Linked DNA regions of Homo sapiens: region 2 is linked to region 1. The links are contacts of gene promoters, found by promoter capture Hi-C in blood cells and fetal thymus (Javierre and others, 2016). All regions are on one chromosome and are shown on one strand. The core of a region is centred on a gene start or on the middle of the fragment in contact, and the rest is flanking DNA. Distances in the headings are between cores, read along the strand shown. Region 1 holds the start of DAPK1 (death associated protein kinase 1). Region 2 has its middle 75 kb from the start of CTSL.

The links. Contacts are between HindIII fragments. The CHiCAGO score rates a contact against its expected background, and 5 or more counts as called.
Region 2: a contact is called between a fragment that was not itself captured here and the fragment with the promoter of DAPK1 in region 1, in 2 of 17 cell types (erythroblasts and monocytes). The highest score is 5.9, in erythroblasts.

Annotation. Positions count from the first base shown.
Region 1 is chr9:87,493,724-87,500,176 of GRCh38, reverse strand. It overlaps DAPK1 (death associated protein kinase 1), which reads right to left and starts at 2,310. Exons shown (of 26, transcript NM_004938.4): 1 at 2,070-2,310; 2 at 1,038-1,207. The coding sequence starts at 1,099. RefSeq lists silencers at 1,352-1,461, 1,672-1,861, 2,232-2,581, 2,602-2,661 and an enhancer at 1,204-1,961. The HindIII fragment of the contact is 10,886 bases long and covers 86-6,453 here.
Region 2 is chr9:87,798,063-87,804,515 of GRCh38, reverse strand. It overlaps the pseudogene LOC100420576. Among named protein-coding and RNA genes, the nearest start is that of CTSL, 75 kb to the right of the region's middle. RefSeq lists an enhancer at 3,785-4,285. The HindIII fragment of the contact is 209 bases long and covers 2,616-2,824 here.

The sequences.
Region 1 (6,453 bases), core at 1,061-3,560:
GTTAAGCTTAGTTTCCATAATTCTCATTAGGCAATCCAGGATGTGGGTGTTTTTTAATTTCCTTTTCATGGAGAAAAAGGAAGCTTTGTATCAGGACATCAGATGTATATGGGAAAATACATATTTCAATGCACATATAAGTAAATACATATTTTGTTTGTTTAAAGATCCTTTTGCCTACTCCACTCACAATGTAAATACACCACAGTCAAATTCCATAAATTCAGTTTTAAATGTATGTATGAAAACTAGGTTTTCTACTAAAGTTGACCAGAGCCCAAAACACTCTGTCTAATACACAGTCAAAGGAAACAGCAATCAGCCCTTAGATGCCCCGAAAGAAACTATTCTTTGTTTACCTAGAAACTGAAAGATTTTACACTGAGAATCACAGCTGCTACAGCAATGGAGGTATGCTCTGAATCCAGATAGCCATATTAGACTCTCATTGATTTGTTAAAAATTTAACATTGTAAATGAAACCAAAGCAACCACCAACACCAACCAGGTAATTAAATTCCTGGTTGGAAGAAGTTTCAAAATCCAAGCCCAATGTCAACATCTGGCAAGTCTCCATTTACCACCTACCAATACTTGCTCAAATTACACTGAAAATTTAGATAGAGGGTAAAGTACTAAGATTTTTAAAACCTATTAATTAGTTTGTACCCTCCGTTTAAATCACACATAAAAGCTAACTCCAATTGCAATTATAATCTTAGTGTTTGTCCTGTTGTCACAGAAGGGCAAGGGCTGACAAGAGTTAGCACGGACAATTAAATCTGATTTTGTCCAGGGGACTGGATCAATATACTGTGCATCATAATCTAGCCCTGAACTGCTGCCTCTCCTCCACCCCCAGGCCCTTGGATCAGGCGGTTTACCGCTGGGTTAGTAACTCTTTTCTCTATGATTTGCGCATCTCCAGAAAGGGCGAGGGAGACGCCTGATTCAAACTGCATTTGTTTACCACCCAATGGCCCCATCGTTATGCATTTCCACAATCCAGGAGGGTACGCTTCTGGTACCCCCTTTACCTGCCAAGTTCCTCGCCGGTGTCGTAGTAATCATCCACGTTTTCCTGCCTGAACACGGTCATGATAAACTGTCACGCCTCACCAAAGCCCAGGGCACTTCAGCTCCGCTTCCCAGACCATCACCACCGCTCCTGCGCCTCCGTAGCCCCCTCATGCATCAGTCTCCAGTCCTTTTGAAGAAAAAAAAAAGGCAATAATAATAGTAAAATGGCAACCCCAAAAGGAAGTAGACCTCCCCGGCGCTAAGACCCCGCTCGCTGAAGACCGGGTCTCCGGAGCTGCCCCTCCTCGCGGGGTGGAGAGGAGCACCCTTTGTTAAAGCTGGGCGGCCAGGGACGCCCCCGACCCCTCAGCCCCGCGCGCGCGTGGGGCCGGGCACCACGGCACCCCGAGGTCGGCGTCCCCAAACGCTGGGCGGTCTGTTGGGATCAGAACCGGCTCCGGAAGTGACTGGCCTCCCCGCCTCCCCTTTCTCTGCACACATGCCCACCCAGCTTTCCCACCTCCAGGGACGCCGCGGAAGAATGAAGCCCTCGCCCAGACGGTACGCGCCTCACTGGGAGCAATCTCTCTCCAGCCTGCGGCAACGGTGGCACCCCCGCGCCACCTCTCGGCTCCCGCGCCTCTCCTAACACCGTGGCCACCCTCTCCCCTTCCCCGAGCGAGGCAGTCCCCAGAGCCACATTCCTGGCGACTCCCTCTCCGTTACCCGGCCGACCCGGCGTGCGGCCGCCCGGGGGAGCAAGGGAGGGAAGGGAGCGGCCCACCGAGGCGCAGCAGTTCGCTCCAGATCCTCGCGCCCCGACACAAAGCGCCTGGTCGGGCCGGCGCCACCTGTTCTCACCCGGCCCGCGGGGCTGGGGAAGCCTCCCGGCTGCGATCGCACTTCTCCCCGAAGCCAAGTTTCCCTCCGCCTTGGCCTTCCCAGTTGCTCGAGGCACTGCCCGGACAAACCCCACCGCGCCCTGGCTGGGAAAGCAAAAGCTGGCGCCGGGGGTCGGGGGGACCGGGGAGCCGCGCCTGGCTACTCACCCGGGCGCCTGGGAGCTCCCCCGGTCCCTCCGGAGCGCTGTCGGAGGCCGACCATAGGCGCCAGCGCCGGAGACTAGCCGGGGCGGCGGCGGGAACACAGCTAGGGAGTGAGTGGGGGGCGCAGATCCCTCCCAGGCGCCGGCCCCAGACCCTGCCGCTGCGAGTTGCCGAGTCCCCTCCGCGGAGGGAACAAAGTCCCCGGCGTTGGCTCGGTCCGGCTGTCCTCCTCACACTCCGAAGCAGCCTCTCGGCTCCTTGCCGCCTTTTGGGCGGAGGGCGGCCGGCAGGCGGCCAATGGGGACCCTGCAAGCGGGCTGGCGGCGCGGCCCACCCACCTCCGAGCTGCCCTGCCAGGCCGGCGCTGCGGGTTCTGCGCGGCGCTCGCTGCTCCTCCCAGCTCCGCGCTCCGGGCTCGCTGGCGCGCTCTACCGCGCACACCCCGCACACACCCACTCGCCCCACACCCACGCCGGCCGGGGAGCCAGTGCGTCCGCCCGGAACGCGGGCGCCCCACCTGTGACACATTGCTAAGCTGCCCTCTGACTGGGTTCTAGGGAAACACGGTTCTTCCGTCCCGAGATGTGTACTGGGATCCCAGCTTGTGCCGGGCACGGTGCTTGGTATGGGAAAATCACATAGAACAAAACAGATTTTTTTAAATCCCTGCCTTCCGGAAACCTGCATTCTGGTGGGACAGATAGATAATAAATATGTAAGCTAATTAATAAGGTAATTTTGGAGGATCAGTCCTACGTTTACCACGAAACAGGTTAATGGAATAGAGAATGGCAGGAAGGGAGCGTACCTCATTAGACTGGGTTCCTCTGCCGGACTGGTGTTGGAGCCGAGGCTTGAAGGCAAGAAGGTTTGCAATCTGAAGAAAGGGTTGAGGTCTCCGAGACCCAAAGAAGCAACAGAGACGCAGAGTTTATTTGCGCTATCCCATATGCTATTGGCTATTGTTGAGCTGAAATGTAGCTAGTCCCAAATTAATTGTGCTGTAAGTGTAAAATACACATTAGAGTCCAAGACAGTATGGATATGAGAATGAAAAATATCTCATGAATATTTTTATATTCATTACACTTTCAAATGATAGTATTTTGGATACGTTGGGTTAAACAAAATATATTATTAAAATTAATTTCACCTGTTTACTTTCTTTTTTTTGAGACGGAGTCTCACTCTGTCGCCAGGCTGGAGTGTAGTGGAGCGTGGCAACCTCCACCTCCAGGGTTCAAGTGATTCTCCTGCCTCGGCCTCCCCAGTAGCTAGGACTACAGTCGCGCGTCACCATGCCCAGCTAATTTTTGTATTTTTAGTAGAGACGGGGTTTCACCGTGTCGACCAGGATGGTCTCCATCTCTTGACCTCGTGATCCGCCCGCCTGGGCCTCCCAAAGTGCTGGGATTACAGGCGTGAGCCACCGCGCCCGGCCTCACCTGTTTACTTTTTAAAAGGTGGCCACTAGAAAATATAACAGTACCTATGTTGCTTGCATGAGATTTCTGAGGACTGTGCTGGTCTACACAAAGATCCCATATCCACTGGAGACCTCTATCCACTTTCTCTACTTCCCACCCCTTGCTCCCACCTAATGTTTGGGTGGAGACGAAGAAGGGTTGATTCCCCACATCCCACTGCTGGAGAACCCCAAACGGTGAAAAGCTCCTAAAGGGAAATCTATTTTACTGCCTAGAATGATGAAAACTGACAGATGAAGAGATTTCCGATCCATACCGTTGTTCAAATCCCCAGGCTTTCTAAACTGAGTTGGTTCAAATCTCTGTGGTTCAACAGAAATTTTCAACTGTGAAGATTTTGGCCTCTTGAAAACAAGGCAAAACAAAACAAAAGAATACCCCTCAGGCCTTATGTCAAATCCTAGTCTTTTTTTTTTTTTTGAGACGGGTTTTCGCTCTTGTGGCCCAGACTGGAGTGCAGTTGTGAAATCTTGGCTCACTGCAAACTCCGCCTCCGCCTCCCGGGTTCAAGCGATTCTCCTGCCTCAGGCTACCCAGTAGCTGGGATTACAGGCATGTGACTATGCCCGGCTAATTTTGTATTTTTAGTAGAGACGTGGTTTCACCATGTTGGTCAGGCTGGTCTTGAACTCCTGACCTCAGGTGATCCTCCCGGCTCGGCCTCCCACAGTGCTGGGATTACAGGCGTGAGCCACTGCGCCCAGCCAAATCCTAGTCTTAAATAACATTGCATTAATGACCCACAGGAAGGGCACACAGGAATCAAGGGGAAGTCCCCAAATTGGGAGATGGTATTAGCTTAAGCAGTGGGCTTGATAATACAAAAGGGTCTTGAGAGGTGAGAAATACAGTCAAAAATAACAACAACAACAAAAAAAGAGTGATTCATCTGGGAAAATGCAAATGAATACATCTGTTGGGAGAAAAAATTTAAAACACAGATGTTTGGGATAAACTTGGAAGGTGTTTATGGATGACTGCCATATGGGTAATATTTATTTTCTGCAAAATAAAAAATATATTGTCCGAGGCAATTAAAAGGACTGAATCTATTTGGCAGCTAGAATGTCTTAACTACCCTAATGGACAATGATGTTCACCGGAGATTATCTGGAGTAGTGAAAAAGAGCATGAAATTTGGAGTCACAAAATTAGATCTAGTATTGGTGGAACCATTTAACAGCTTAATAACCTTGGATGAGTCACTAACCCCCGAGCTTTTTGTGTACACCAATTTAGACAAGCATTTTAGAAAGGGGAAATGTGGTCATTTAAAAACATATTCACAAATTCTTTGACACTCCCCCAATCAAGAGGTGGAGTCTAATTCCCCTCTCAATAAATATTCACCAACCCTATCTGCTTGCTTCTAAGAAAAGGTAGTGGCAGTGGCACAGTGTAATTTATTTCCAAGGTTAGGTCATAAGGCATTAGAGCTTCTGCCTGCTTGCTTCTCTTTCTCTCTCTCTCTCTCTCTCTCTCTTTCCCTCCCTCCCTCTCCCCCTCCACCCACTCTAAAGCCTTCAGCTGTCATGATTACCCTAGGGCTGCCATGTAGAGACATGTGACAAAACCACAGAAAGAACGAGAGATGCCCAGAGAAGCCAGCTGTCCAGCCCCACCCTCACTCCCAGTTGTTTATATCTTCCAGTTCAAGTTCTGTGAGCAAAATCAATGACTTTTAATGTTTTAAGTCATTATTTCAGAGTGGTTTGTTATGTAGCAATAGATTATCTTCTTAAAAAGAAAAATTAAGAAAACTTTTCTCTTAACACATACCAGGTTCCAGACAGATGAAATAATTCTCTCAATTAATCTTTAAATAAATTAGCGGGGTTTTTATTTAATAAATAAATAAATAAATAAGTGGTTATTTCCACTTTACATGTAAACGTCTCAGTTTCATCACCTGTGAAATGAAGATGATTATAGACCCTTACATATTCCTTGGGTTTGTTGGGAGAATCTAAAGAGATAATGCATGAAACAGGACTTTGTACATTATAAAATACACCAGAATGTTGGATATTTTATTTTCTATCATGTCCCTAGCAAAAAGGACTCAGAGAGGCATCTCACACATAGAAGGCAACAATATAAGAAGCCACAAATTATGAGATGCCAGTTGAGAAGGACTTCTATAAAAATAATTATGATATGGACTATGGATTATAATAATGATGGCGATAATATTTTAAACAAACCCGACTGTAGATTTTAGAACATTATTTTACAGTCGTATTAGGGTAAAATAACCATTGCTATAAGACCCAACAAATCCCAGAGGTTTAACACATTAAAAATGTGTTACTTGCTCTCAGCACAAAGGTTTGCAGGGCATAAGCAGAGATCAGCTCCACAGTAGTCATTCAGAAACCCAGGTTTCTGCCATCTAATGAATCCATGCTCCTCCAGCGTAAGTTCCTCAGTTTATCCTTTCCATCTTTTGGCTGATGAGAGAAGAGATAATACAGGGAGGATTGCACTGAAGGTTTATGTAGGAGGTCAGATTTGAAGTCTGAGACAATCATTTTCTGGCAAGATGTTCTCAGCTCAAAGTGGACCATATTATCTCATTTCCACCTTTTGGTTGCTTTTTTGTAACATGGCTTTGGTTTTATCAAGGGCTAATATTTTTAAGAATGTTTCCCACTTTGGGAGGCCGAGGCGGGCAGATCACGAGGTCAGGAGATCAAGAGCATCCTAGCTAACACGGTGAAACCCCATTTCTACTAAAAATACAAAAAATTAGCCAGGTGTGGTGGCAGGTGCCTGTAGTCCCAGCTACTTGGGAGGCTGAGGCAGGAGAATGGGGTGAACCCGGGAGGCGGAGCTTGCAGTGAGCCGAGATGGTGCCACTGCACTCCAGCCTGGGTGACAGAGCAAGACTCCGTCTCAAA
Region 2 (6,453 bases), core at 1,471-3,970, 300 kb before region 1:
TCTTGATTTTATATCAGCATCCATTTTACTACAGTCGCTGCAAGTCCCATTCTTATCGGATTTTAAAATAAGAGTTTCAGGAGTTGGCATATTTTTATTCTGTTTGATTCTCCTTCTAATCAGATTTTCCATGAGCTGATATTAAAAGTAGTGTGCCTTTACTTCATCAGATAGTGAAGAAAGGTGCCCAGGAATATTTTGAAAAGTGAAAAAAAAAAGGGGGAGTTTGCCCAGAATGAAAAATTCACCACCTGCAAGCTGCATTTGCATAATTAAGAGTTGCTGCTCCATCCATGGGCTCTCACTACACCCTGCCACGTGGGCGGGGCCACATTGCCTCTCAGCGCTCTTATCTGGCCTTCCCAGACCGTGGATGGTCTCCTCATTAGCTTGCAGATGTTTAGTCCTCTTTTCTGATGAGAAAAATGAAAATAAATTGCCACAGTTGGTGCTGGAATAAAGGAAACTAGAAACTAGGAGATCCACCAGGGCTTCAAAGAGCAATGCTGTTACCAAATAACACTGATTCACTCATGCACTGAAAAGATATTCCCAGTGTCTACTGCATGCCAAGAGCTGTTCTGGGCACTGCAGAGACCACGGTGAACAAAATCGGCAGAACCCAGCCAGGAAACAGATCAGAAAAATGCCAGATAGCATAAGTTGAATCAATGGGTGATAAATAACAGCCTACAACTCACCACCTGCTTCTGTAAATAAAGTTTTATTGAGACACGGCCACACGCTCTTGTCTACGGCTGGTGTTCATACATGGCAGAGTTGAGTTGCCACAGAGACCATCTGGCCCTCTACAGAAAGGGTTGCTGCCTCCTGGGGTAGGTGCCATGCAGGGAATTGAAACAGGATGAAGTGAGATGAGAGGATGGTGGAGTCTACTTTCACCTGGCTGATGAGGACCTCTCTGATGTGACACTGAAACCAAGACCTGAAGGGCAAGAAGAAGGAAGCAGCCCGAGGAAGGGCTGGAGGAAGACAGAGGAATAGGGAGTGCAAGGGGCCAGGTAGTGAAGGGTTGGAGGAGCTCAAGCATAAAACAACAAAGAAGGAGGGTAACTGGGCTAGGGCCAGAGGATGGGCCTGGAGGTGCAGGCAGAGAACGATGCGCGAGCGATGTGACCCCGACGACGTGACCCCGACGACGTGACCCGAGAGGTGGCACGGCTTTATAGACCTTACCTGGGGGGTGAGGAGACTGGGTTTGGGCCAAGTGTGTTAAGCTGGCTGGTGCGAGATCTGCCTTAGGTTTAGGAATTCCCCCAGCTGCTCAGACTGGAGCCTCGGGGTCAGGAGGTGGAGCAGAGGGACCTGATAGGAGATGATCTTGGCAACCAGGGGAGATGTGACGGTGCTTGGACTGGGGCTGTCCAGGCTCTATTACTTAGTGAGCCTTGGGCAAGAATACATGTGGGACCCTCCATAGGAGCCAGGCCCAGTGGGAAGGACCTAGGGAGTCCTGTAGCTGGTGCTCACCCGGGTTCCAGACGCTGTCCACAGAGCCTGTCATTTGACTGCCAGGATCTGTGCGGTCCTCTCATGAGCCCATTTCAGAGGAAAGTAACCCAAGGCTCAGAAGTTCGAGGTGGGTCTTCCCAGGCGAGAGGAACACAGCAGATGGGGGCCTCCCCTACAAGCTGCAGTGCTCTGTTGAGTATGAGGAGGGGAGGGGGGACATTGACTGTCATTTAAAAATCAGGAGATCACACCTAAAAATGTGGATATTTGGCTTCTTGTGGGAAGCCTGTTCCACACTGGATGCACCTTCCTCCGTGGTGCTGGGTAGCGGGGAGGCGGCAGCTGCTCCACTTAGAGGGACACAGGCTCTGATTTCATGATGTTCTCCACCTGCACTCCAACTCCAAGAGTCAAGAGTCCCTTGGAACAGGAGAGAGACCTCAGAAGCAGGTCCTGCCCCTGGTGTGAAATTCTGCTCTGTGATGACATTCCCAACCAGGGGAGAAGGACAGTACCCTGCGCAGAAATGCATTGGAGTGTGTGGGCCCTGGTAAGGTCATGCCTAGTCAATGTCAGAGGCAACATTCAGTCTCAGAGCTCTCTAGCAAAGCCATGCAGCCTCTGGGAGGACCTGGCAAGAACAAGAGATGTGTGCAACCCCATGGAGGCCCCCATTGCTTAATGCCCAGGTGGTCCATTGGCTCCAGAGGGGTAGGCAGAGTGTTATCCAGTACCTGGAAATAAGGAGCTTCACCTACAGTTAAACCAGCATCTGCCTGAGGCTGTAAAGAGGCAGGAGGCCGTGCACACAGGCCCCATAGCACCTTTTCCTCCTGCCCGGTGTGGGGAAAACTTGACCTGGGGTGTGCACCTGCAGCCTTGAGTCTGAGGGAGCCCTGGATAGAAGGCACAGCTCAGCAGCTGGACCCAGAGGTGGATGGGAAGATGCCACCAGAGAAGATGCCACTAGCCCTGGGCCAGGCAAGTCAACAGTCACTTGATGCTCTTAGAGCCTGTGCATCAGCACCAGACCACACCCCACAGGCAGGGGACTCCTGTTCAAGTGGCATGAGACCAGCTGGGGTGCTGCACAGAGCACGCCATGGTTGCTGGATGAAGTAGTCCTGGGAAGATGTAAAGCTTCACCCTTCAGAAATATTTGAGAGCAAGGAACATACTGAAACATTGAAAGAAAACATTCCCTACATCTGTATCTCAGCATCAACTATGACTTTCTGTCTCTAATGAATAGACAGAATCAGAGTCCATGTGCATTTTGTTCTCTGGAAAGTTGGTGTCCCCTGAGCTCCCCGGAGCAGAACTGGCTGTGGCAGCAGAGAGAGGAGAAGCTTGTCCTGGGCCCCCAGATCCTGCCCTCGAATTACAAAAGTAATTCCAAAGTGACATTGTGGAATATTTAGAAAATTCAGAGAAGTAGAAAAACCGTCACTAACAAAATTATTGAAGGACATAAAATAGTAGATGAAAAAAATGGAAGGAGATTGCTATCCCTGATAGCAAGATAGGACTGGATGTTTCAATTTCTCTGAGTTATATAAATTTAATAGAGTTCCAGTTAGCATCTGAATGGGACTAAGGAGATTGAGTTTCCTATCTTATAACTTTAATAGAAGAATAAATAAAACATTATAAAGGCTCTATAATCAATATGATTAAATAAGTTATAGGAACAGCCTAGAGAGTATAGAAGTCAATCATAATATCTACAGAAATGTTATAGAAAGCAAAATATGTTATTTCAATTTAATGGGGAAAATGTTTGTTTGATAAGCGATCTTGACACAGCTGGCTATTTGCCTAAAGGTAAACAACGTTGAACTCCCGCTCACTACAGAGCATAAAGATAAATGGATTAGAGCTTTTCACCGTGAAATGATACAACAATCTCTTGAATGGAAATTTGGGAAAACTTGTTTTTAAAATGACTTGGAAGTTTAGAAACCTTTTAAAACCCTAGATATGTTTAAAGAAAATGTACATATTTGACACACTTTTAAAAAAAGACTTTCTGGCAAATATATTCCACAAAGTTACAAAGTGAAATAGACCTGGAAAAAAATATTCTCAATGCATTTCACAGCTAGAGGGTTACTACTACCCATAATATTCAAAAAGCTCTCCAAAATTAGTAAGAAAAGGGCAGACATCCCAGTGGAAAGTGGTAACGCGTTCTCAGAAGGTTCCTACTGCCCAAGCCTGAGTGTCAGCTCTGGGCCCCTCTGCTGTCCAGCAGGGGCCACCTCCTGTTATGGGCCCCCCTTCCAAAACCCTGCACTCCCGACAGCAGGCGCTGGATCCAGACATGCTTTTGGAATTCTCGGGAAACACAAAGGGAGTAGTCCGGCGAGGCCTGGGAGGAATCTGTCACAGAAACCAGGGGCGGTGATCTAGGAACTAACAGTGGTCTGTCTGTGAGGGCCCCTGCACTTCCCCACCAGGTCTGGATTGGGGCTGCATTCCTGAGGCAGGAGGGAGTGTCCCTGGAGATTTTTGAGCTGGGCTGTGGCATGATCTGCTGCTTCTCAGATACCCCCCACCCAACCCCTAAACTCCTGAGCTCAGGCAGGTGGAGCCCACCACGTCAACTGCACTCACCCCTGAGAATCCTGTTTTGGGAATAGGGAGTGGAATTTAGTTGATATAAAAGGATTTGAGAGGGGAGTGTGGAATTAACGGCGCAGTGCAGGGCATGGCATGTGTGGTTTCTAATCAGGAGGTGCGTCAATTATATGAATCTGTAACATAGGCTGATTTATTTAACCAACTTAAAAGGTTAGAAAATCATTTCAAGCTAATTACCAAGAATTGGTCTAATTTGAAACAATATTTCAACAACAGTCCCCATGAATGCTAATTTACTGGTCAAAACCCACTCTGACATTGATGATGATACTCATGCTCTTTTCCTCTTTTTGTTCATAAAGTGGTCATTACATGAGTGAAACAGTCACAGGAGGGAGAGACAGCGAGGGAAGAAAGGAGGGAGGGAGGAAGAAGTGAGGGAGTGAAACATTAGGAGTTGGTGAACATTAGTTGATTGAGTGACTGAGTCCACAATTCCAAAAACATTCTTGGAAGACTCAAAATCTGTTTAATAGATTTCCAGTAGAACTGAAGAGCCTCTATAAAACCTTATATTTGATAAATTGATTCCACTTGATGGTAACTAAAATAATAACTGTCCCAGTACTCAAGCATAAACGTGCTTATTTGTTCACCAAATCACCTGCAAGGCACCTGAATGAAAGATGTCCTCTCCACCGCAGCTCCGCTCAGGGCACCCACAGCTGCAGGTGAGTTAACCTGTCCTGCCCTGCTTCTTCTAGGTCTGCCCTCCCATGACTCACCTGTGTGAGAAAATCATCTCCATGCTGCCTTCCTGGTGGAACCTCAATGGACCCAACCAGCTGATGTCACTGCAGCAGTTTGTGTGCGAAGTGCAGGACCAGCTGAACCCTCTGGTCATCCAGGGGTACCCCAGGTGCATTGCTCAGCAGCTCCACAGTGCAGGCGAGGTGAGCCCCTAGTAGTCCAGGCAGGAGGCTGTGAGGAGCACCAGGAACTCACATCTGTCCCAAATTCCAGTTCTTGGAGGTGGTATGAGCCTTGGGAGGCAGTGTGGAAATGGGCCAACTACTGATAATATTTCCAGACATGTGACAATCACGTACAGCCTCAAGTGACGCTCTGAACTGCAGTTCTCGGCTCACCTTAGAAGCTGTCATTTTGTCTTGTGTGTTGCTTTTGTTTCCAGTGCCTGATAGTTTTGGAGTGCAGTGCCCGCTGCCCTGGGTGACTGGGTCCCTCTTCGCTCCCCCTGGGCACCTGGTACTAACCTGCTATTACTGGCAGCCTTCAGGATGGCTGCTTTCCATGCGGTGTGGAGTTACCAGCTCCAAACAGGCCTCCTGGGTGCAAAAACCATTGAGAAAAGGCAGTAAGGTGTTCTCATGGAGACAATGTTTGGGGGACCTAAGGCAGAGAATGTGTGCGCAGACACAGAGGGTAATCATAATTCAAGGAACACATTCAACCCCCCAGCAAGTGATTCCTGGAAGAAATGACCCAAAATAGGAGGCTTTGCTCCAGTTGTGTGACATTCAACACTGGGGTGCGGTTTAAAAACCCAGCCATAGAGCAAAAATGCAAAACCAGTTATCTTGTAGAATGTTCCTACTTGTGGATTTATCTGTCTTTTCCCAGTGACATTTTAAGTTACCCTTCCATAAAACTAACAGAACAGTTGAAAGCAACAACTATCCAATGCTGTCACCAATTATAGTACCCTGAAAGGAGAGAAAGAGGGAAGGGAAGGGGAAAGGAGGGGAGGGGAGGGGAGGGGAGGGGAGGGGAAGGGAACTAACAAAACTAGGAAAGTTATAGTGGTAGAACAGTGGTAATTTCCTTCAATGGAATAATTTAATGTTAGGAAAAATAACCACCCAGTGTTCCTCTGTTTCCTCCATTTCCCTGGACTAGTGATAAGTTCACCATGGGCCACATGACTCTAAAGGTTTATTGCTGTGTTTTGTTTGCTCAAGAGCCTTTGCTCTTTGCTATGCATAGAAGTGCAGGGAAAGCCCTCAGGCCCCATCTCATGACATATTTCATGACCATGTTTATTCCATCCCTTGAACACTGAAACTTACCCAAGGCCCCTGCGGGAGGGCCACACTTTAGGAAACACAGTCATTCTGGTTGCTCTTAAAATAAGGGCACAGGATCTAAGAGTCAAGAGGAAATGGGAGGTTTCTCAGTTCATCCAGAGCATCACCCACCATGAAACACAGGGGCCAGGCAGTCTGCTCAAACAGTCCCAGGGATGGAGAATTGGAAAAGCAGATTTTAATTCCTACGTGAGCTGACACTTGCTACCTGTATTTCTCGTCCCTTGTTCTGTCTTCCAGGTTATAAAGAAGCCTTGAATCCTCCTCCACGATACTCGCTCCACTATTTGTT